Regions from separate parts of the Homo sapiens genome. Here region 2 is linked to region 1. Evidence: promoter capture Hi-C in 16 types of primary human blood cells and fetal thymus (Javierre and others, 2016). All regions are on one chromosome and are shown on one strand. Each heading gives the region's core, a stretch centred on a gene start or on the middle of the fragment in contact. The rest is flanking DNA. Distances are from core to core; before and after follow the strand shown.

The links. Contacts are between HindIII fragments. The CHiCAGO score rates a contact against its expected background, and 5 or more counts as called.
Region 2: a fragment that was not itself captured here is called in contact with the fragment with the promoter of GLI4 in region 1 in 2 of 17 cell types (fetal thymus and naive CD8 T cells); the score reaches 7.6 in fetal thymus.

What each region holds. Positions count from the first base shown.
Region 1 is chr8:143,266,017-143,269,642 of GRCh38, reverse strand. GLI4 (GLI family zinc finger 4) reads right to left here and starts at 2,198. Exons shown (of 4, transcript NM_138465.4): 1 at 2,159-2,198; 2 at 123-283. The coding sequence starts at 246. RefSeq lists an enhancer at 360-1,182 and silencers at 1,743-1,862, 2,023-2,732. The HindIII fragment of the contact is 18,516 bases long and covers 1-3,626 here.
Region 2 is chr8:143,530,375-143,534,109 of GRCh38, reverse strand. The region is part of intron 3 of ZC3H3 (zinc finger CCCH-type containing 3); the gene reads left to right. Among named protein-coding and RNA genes, the nearest start is that of ZC3H3, 9.2 kb to the left of the region's middle. The HindIII fragment of the contact is 509 bases long and covers 1,651-2,159 here.

The DNA.
Region 1 (3,626 bases), core at 949-3,448:
GCATACAGGTGTCTGGAGGCGCCTCTCAAGTCAGCCAGCGTGGCAGGTCAGGAGGAGACAGGGCAGGGGACGTGAGGGCAGGGGATGCAGGGTGGAGGGCGCACAGCGGGCTGGGTGAGTACCATGTTGATGCCCATGGAGGTGAAGCTGAGGCTCGTGGTGCTGGGTTCCAGGTGTCCCCGGTGATGAGAGACTGACAGGGGACGGGACAGAAGGGGACTCCTGAATGTCCCCTAGGGCTGCCATCTTCCCTGAGACCTGCTGAAGGTGTCACACCTGGGACCTGGGGAAAATGAAAACCATGGCAGATGAGGGGATTGGGAGGAATGTCGGGGGGATGGTGCAGGAGGAGGCAACATGCCAGCTCTCCAAGGGGAGATGGAGGTTTATCCACTCCAGGAGGAGCAAGGATGGAGGATGAACCCACAGAGACACATAGGCCTGGGGTGAGGCAGTTGGGGGACCTGGCACATTTATTCAGTAAGGAATAACGCTTTGAGTGGCTGGGGACGGTGGCTCATGCCTGTAATCCCAGCACTTTGTGAGGCCGAGGTGGGTAGATCATGAGGTCAGGAGTTTGAGACCAGCCTGTCTAATATGGTGAAACCCCATCTCTACTAAAAATATAAAAATTAGCTGGGCGCAGTGGCGGGCACCTGTAATCCCAGCTACTTGGGAAGCTGAGGCAGGAGAACAGCTTGAAATCAGGAGGTGGAGGTTGCAGTGAGCCGAGATGGCGCCCCTGCACTCCAGCCTGGGAGACACAGCAAGACTCAAACAACAGCAGCAGCAGCAGCAGCAGCAAAGGAGTAACGCCTTGGAAGGCGCGCTTAGGAAGCAGCCACCGCCTGGGCGGCACAGCAGACGCCTGTGGGGGCTGAAGCGAAGCTCCTGTCCCAGCAGAGGCTCTGGCATCTCCTTCCAGCCCGTGGCATCACCCCTCCCCCAGAGAAAGGCATAGGGAGTCTTCCAGAAAAACCTCAGCTGCTGGCCCTGTGGGAGGGCTGAAAACCGAACCATGCCTGCTGCGCATGAGTGTTTTGGAGGAAATCTTAATAAGGTTTTTCCCGAACAGCAGAGAAGAGACGTTTCCAGAGGGCAACTCTCTTCCTCAGACCCTACAGAGCCCTCAGAGACTGCAGGCTGGAATCCCCTAGTCCAGCCCTGCAGCAGCACTGGGAGACTCACTCAGGGCTCCAAGACACTTCTTAGTTTACTTTGCAAAAACGGCTTGAGTCCAATGTGAAAAGTGACTTTTCTTTCATACTGTGATAGAGTAGGAACTCCTAATCTGGGGCAGGGAGTGAAGAAAGGAACGGGAAAAGAGGACAAAAGTTAACGGATACTCAGATCTAAGAACAGCAGACAGTGCCTGCTTCGAGGAAGTGGGAGAGGCAGCTCCCACACGGCCGCCACCCCAGTGCCCGGCTTCTGGGCCAGCCTCCATCCCCTAATGATGGGAAGGGTCAGGTCACCAGGTAGGTGGCCACTGGGTGCAGGTCCTCCACCCTGAAGTCACATCTCAAGTTACTTAGTTAACTTACTGGGGACACCTGGTAAAAGGGCCTGCTCGATCACCCCGACCCTGGCTTGGCCCCCAGGACTGAGCAGAGGCGACCATCACAGCGTGGACGCCCCTTCACCCCCAGGGACGCACAAACTCTGAGCTCCAGACTGAAGGGGGAAGGGCACTCCTGCCAGCGGCTCGGGGGAAGCATCCTCTGCCCCTCTGTTCCCAGCCCCGTGGGAGCGGACCCAATCGCCGGGAGCTCGGCACAGAGCGCGTCCGCCCGGCGGTGCGGCGCTGGGGTCCGGCGGCTCCTCGCTCCGGAGCGGCGGGACCTCCGGGCCTCAGTTTCCCATCTGCAGAGTGGCGATGACGACAGCTGCCGTCACTGGGTGCCTGGGAAAGGCGCCCTGCGAACGGACACCCGCTATCGCCAGGGCCGCTGGGCGGGGCGGTCCGCTGCTGCTCCGCGACCCCCAGGAGCCCACCCCGCTCCCCGGGCTTGGCCCAAGGCCAAGGTCACGGCGAGCGGCGGCTGCAAGGGCCGCACGGCCCGGCTGGGCAGGGCTGCACCGCGGAGTACGGCGCACGAGCTCGGACTGGGCTGGTCCCAGGCACCCGGAGCCGCCGCCGCCGCCCGCGCCCACTCACCTTCCGAGCGGGAGGAGGACGCCGCGCGCCGGACGGAAGTGTCCGGCCCCGCCCCACTCCGCCCGGCCGGCGCGCACTTCCGGGACGCTCTGGGCCCCGGGAGGACCGCACGCCTCGGTGGCCGTGTGGGGGCGGGGCCGGGAGCGAAGAGGAGGCCTTTCCCCGCCCCTCCCCTCGTGGGCTGCGCCCGCGCGTGGCTTTCGCGTACACGCTGGCCCGGATCCCGCCCGCGCCTGCAAAGCGCCCGGGCGCGGGGAGCGGCGCTGCGTGGGGCGCAGAAGCCGGCGCCTCGGAGCCTCCTTCCCGACGCCGGCCCTGCACCGCCCGGGGAGCCAGCGCGGGGCCGGGCTTCGGGAGATGACGGCGCCGTCCCCACGCTGCCCGCGGCCCCTCCGTGCACTCCAGGCCTCCGGGGGTCCTCGGCTGGAGTTGCTTCCACGTTCAGCTCGCGAGTCCCCCCCGCCGCCCTCTTGGGTTCCCTCCTCGGGATGTGTCCGCAGCGATGGTCACCGGCGGCCGGGAACCGCTGCGAGACGCGCGACCTCCCGCTCCCCTCGCGGGGGCCCCAGCGCCCTCGATTCTGCCTGCTTTCCAGGGGCGTCCCCGGGAGCCTGAGGAGGATGTTACAGGTTCCCCAAAGCCCCTTCATGGACTCCTTCCTCATTTTCCTCTTGTTCAGCCACAGTTTCTCCCTCAGTTCTGTGCTTACGACCTGAAAAGAGAAAATTGTCACTTTCTGGGAAAAATAAACGGCCGGGGAGGGTTCTTTGACCGTTTTGAGCAGGGGTGCAGAGAGCCGAGGCGAGGGGACCCCTGAGCTGGAGGGGCACGCGGAGCAGAGGGCGGGGGGGCCTGCAGACGGGCAACAGCTGCCAGGGTGGACGCTCAGGGCTGTGTGGGTGGAGGAGCCCCCAGGCTGATAATATGTAAAAATCTCTAAACTCTACCGCAAGAAAACAAACATTCCAGTTAGAAAATTGGCAAGAGCCGCAACAGACGTTTGACCGAAGAGGGCACAGGGATGGCAATAGGCTCGGGAAGGGATGGCTGTCAGGGAAGGGCCGGCCAGCATCGCGGTGGGTGCCACTGCACACTTGCCAGGTGGCTCAGGTAAAAACTGCTAACAAGTGCCAAGCATCACTGAGGTCGCGGAGCAGCTTGGGACATCGCCAGTGGTAAGGCAAAGTGGTGCTGCCATTCTAGAAATTGGCTTGGTAGTTTCTTAAAAAGTTATAAGTAGCGCCGGGCGCAGTGGCTCACGCCTGTAATCCCAGCACTTTGGGACACTGAAGTGGGTGGATCACCAGAGGTGGGGAGTTTGAGACCAGCCTGACCAACAGGGAGAAACCCCATCTCTACTAAAAATATAAAAAAGCTACCCGGACACGGTGGCGGGCACCTGTAATCCCAGCTACTTGGGAGGCTGAGGCAGGAGAATCACTTGAACCGGGAGGCGGAGGTTGCATTG
Region 2 (3,735 bases), core at 656-3,155, 260 kb before region 1:
GTCTTGCTTTGTTGCCTAGGCTGGTCTTGAACTTCTGGGCTCAAGTGATCCTCCTGCCTTAGTCTCTTAAAGTGCTGGGATTACAGGTGTGAGCCACTGTGCCCAGCCAAACTCATAGTTAAAGACCAACGTGAGGCTGGGCGTGGTGGCTCATGCCTGTAATCCCAGCACACTGGGAGGCCGAGGCGGGTGGATCACCTGAGGTCAGGAGTTCAAGACCAGCCTTGGCAACATGGCAAAACCCCGTCTCTACTAAAAATACAAAAATTAGCTGGGTGTGGTGGCGAGCGTCTGTAATCCCATCTACTCGGGAGGCTGAGGCAGGAGAATCACTTGAACCCAGGAGGCAGAGGTTAGATCGTGCCATTGTACTCCAGCCTGGGCGACAGAGTGACATTTTGTCTCAAAAAAAAAAAAAAAAAAAGACCAGCGTGGCGGCTGCATGGAGTGAGAGGAGAGGGTCCTGTCTGAGGAAGGGGTGGGGAAGGCGTCCCACTCACTTGCCCACCACTGGCCCAACTGGCAAGCGTGGTTGAGTCACTGTGCCTGGCAGCCTGCCGGCTCCTGGGGATACTGCAGTGAAGGTGAAGAGATGATGAGGCTGGAGCCGCCTTCCAGTGGTGGAGACAGGCAGCCACTGGAGTGCTTGTACATCAGCCAGGAAGGTGCTCCTGGGTGGAAAATGCCTTCTGAGGAACAGGCAGGGGGAGAGCACAGGGCCAGCTGCAGAGAGGTGGTTGGCGAGTGGGAGGGCTTCTCTGAGGAGGTGACCTGAGCAGAGAGGAGCGAATAGGGCTCAGCTCTGAGGCCGAGGTGGAGGTGGGAACGAGCTTACTGTGTTCTGGAGCACAAGGAGGCTGTGGGGCCAGTTCACCATCTGGGAGTGTGGCTTGGAGGGGATGCAGCCAACGGGGCAGAGGGACCAGGTCCTGGGAAAGGGTCTTGTAGGCCACAGGAGGGAACGGGGGGTTGGTTCTGGTTACGTTGGGAAGCCAGGGAGGGACAGGGGAGGACCCTGGGAGGGGCGTGTCCAGGGCCCCGGGGTGTCTGGCAGGCCCGAGTGGGCAGAGTCGGGAGGACCTGTGCGTGAGGCCACTGACGCCAGGCCAAGGAGCGGAGTCCGCAGGCTCTCAAGCAGGCAGGGAGCCCGTGGAGATGTGCGCGGAGGTGAGAGGCCGAGCCTGCGTCCTGGCCTGGTCACTCAGGCGGCTGACCCCAGAGACAGCCACCGTGAGACTCCAAGCTGGCCGCAGGGGAGGTGGGCGTGGCCAGGGCGTCTGCTGAGGAGATGGGAGGCTGGGGCCCAGGAAGCTGTTGAGTGGCTCCCCCAGGTGCCCTCCTGCAAGGCCCACCGTCTCCATGCCTGCCTGCCTGCCTAGGAACTGAGGCCTGCCTGTCCTCTGCCTTGGCCAGTGGGCTTCTGGGCAGGGCCCAGCTTTGTTTCGTTGAACGCTGCAGTGCTCTGGTGAGCCAGTGAGCCCTTCCCAGGCCCTCCTTCAGCCCTCCCGGGTGGCCAAGGCCTCCATCGGCTGGGGTGTTCGTTCCTGGATGCTGGGGTCGTGTGGGCTGTGGATGGGGCAGCCAGGTGGGACTGCTCCTTCATTTGGCTGTTGGGAGTTTTCTTTCCCCATTTTCTGCCCAGCAAAAGCTTAGTTCCAGCTCCACCTCTCCTCTTCAAGGAGACGGCAGTGTCCCAGTGTCCAGCTGGGGACGACTGCCCTGTGGACTTATGCACCAGGGACAGGGGCTTCTGAAAGCTGCCAGGCAGCCCTGCTGCCGCCTCCCTCCCCCGCCGCACTTCAGCCTTGCCGTGCGGCCCAGTGGCCAGCAGAGGGCATGCTTGCCCCTCCTATCGCCTCCGTCCACCCTTTTTTGGTAATCGCGTAATTTCCTTTTTATGTGAAAGAAAGCAGATACCAAGTAATTTGCAGCAATAACCTGCTAATGCTGGGCCAGTATCGAAACTCCCCTGTTCATTTCAAGTGGCAGATAAAACGCTAATACATAATTATCCTTGCAAATTGGATTATTTTAAATAACCAAAAGGCTACGGCCAGGAGAAAGCGATCCCATCTCCCCTGAGTTACTATTGCAGCGTAATTGCCGCGTTCAATCAATTTCCCTGGCATTAGAAATTCCGTCACAATCAACATTAAGCTTTATTCATTGTGATGGCTAAGAGCCGGGCCATTTCTCCTCTTTTTCTTAACTGGCAAAATTAATCAGGGAAAAGATTTTAAACATTTACCCGTGCGAAAGAGGTCAGCCCTGCCACTATATTGCTCAGCAGATAAGGGGGCTAATAAAAAGAAAATTGAATTACTAATGATCACCAAGAACAGAGTATATAAAACCTGGCCATCGCCAGTTCAGGAAAAGGGAGAATCAATTTTCTTGGGACAAGGTGCGTTCATTTTTTATTTTGGCGCATATTATCAGCAATTTAATTTGAGAGGCATAAACAGGAGGAAACAGTTAGGGAATAATGAGCCTGGAGGTGTAAAGTGCCACAGGATATATGCTGTACACAATTTATTTGGCACAACAGATAATCGCTTTAATTGAATTCAAAAGTGCATTGTTCAGCAGCACTGTGGCCGCTCACGCCTGGGGACTGAGACTGTTTGGAAGGTTTCAGCCTGACTCTTCGGTGCCTCTCCTCCCCTCCCTGCCTCTCCCGGCCCTCCGAAGTCCTCTGGGCCTGGAGTCAGACCTCGGCTGGGGGCGGGGCAGGGGATTCCTGGGGGTCTCTTCCTCTGCTGTCAGTGTGCCCCTTGCCTTCCGTTTCTTCCTTCCCTTTTCTCCTGGGGATGGGTCTGTTGGCAGCTGGGGGATGAGGATGTGAGACACTGGCCGGGTGCCGAGGCTCATGCCTGGAATCCCAACACTTTGGGAGGCTGAGGCGGGTGATTACTTGAACCCAGGAGGTCAAGACCAGCCTGGGCAACGTGGCAAAACCCCATCTCTACAAAAAATGCGAGAATTAGCCGGGCATGGTGGCACACGCCTGTAGTCCCAGCTACTCGGGAGGCTGGGGTGAGAGGATTGCTTAGGTCTGGGAGGTTGAGGCTCTAGTGAGCCATGATCGCACCACTGCACTGCAACCTGGGTGACAGAATGAGACCCTGTCTCAAAAAAAAAAAAAAAAAAAAAGGAGATAGAAGACAGCCCCAGAAGGGTGGCCTGGGCGAGTAATGTTTGCTGGAGGCTGCAGTAGAGACCTGCCTGGGTTGATCTGTCTCTGGTGGACCGATGCTAGAGGGGGCATTTGGGCAGAAGAGAAGAAAACCTTTTTGGAGTCTGAAAAATGGTGTCCTGTTTGCCACTCACATAACTGTGGCAATCAGTGTTCTCGAGTACAGTGTTTACAGTACACACGGCTGAGCACTGTGGCCAGGCTCTCACTGTGGTGCGGGGGAAGTGGGGCCAGCTTCGTGGTACATCCTCCTGGGGCCCGTCGCTGTGCTCGGCCACCCTGAGATGACAGGCATGACTCCCTAAGCCTGGCCGGCCTGTGCAGAGGGATGCTGTCCAGGCTGTACACTCCAGGCCAGGCCAGGAGTGAGGGCCAGCTCTCCCACCCACCACCCTGTGCCCAGGCTGGGGAGCTTCTTGGTGGCGGGAGGTGATGGGATTCCTACCAGCCACATGGAAACGTCTGCTATTTTACGCCAGGGAAAAGTCATGGTAGGTGGGTAGGCAGTGGTGTCGTCATCTGCTGGAGTGGGAGGGCCC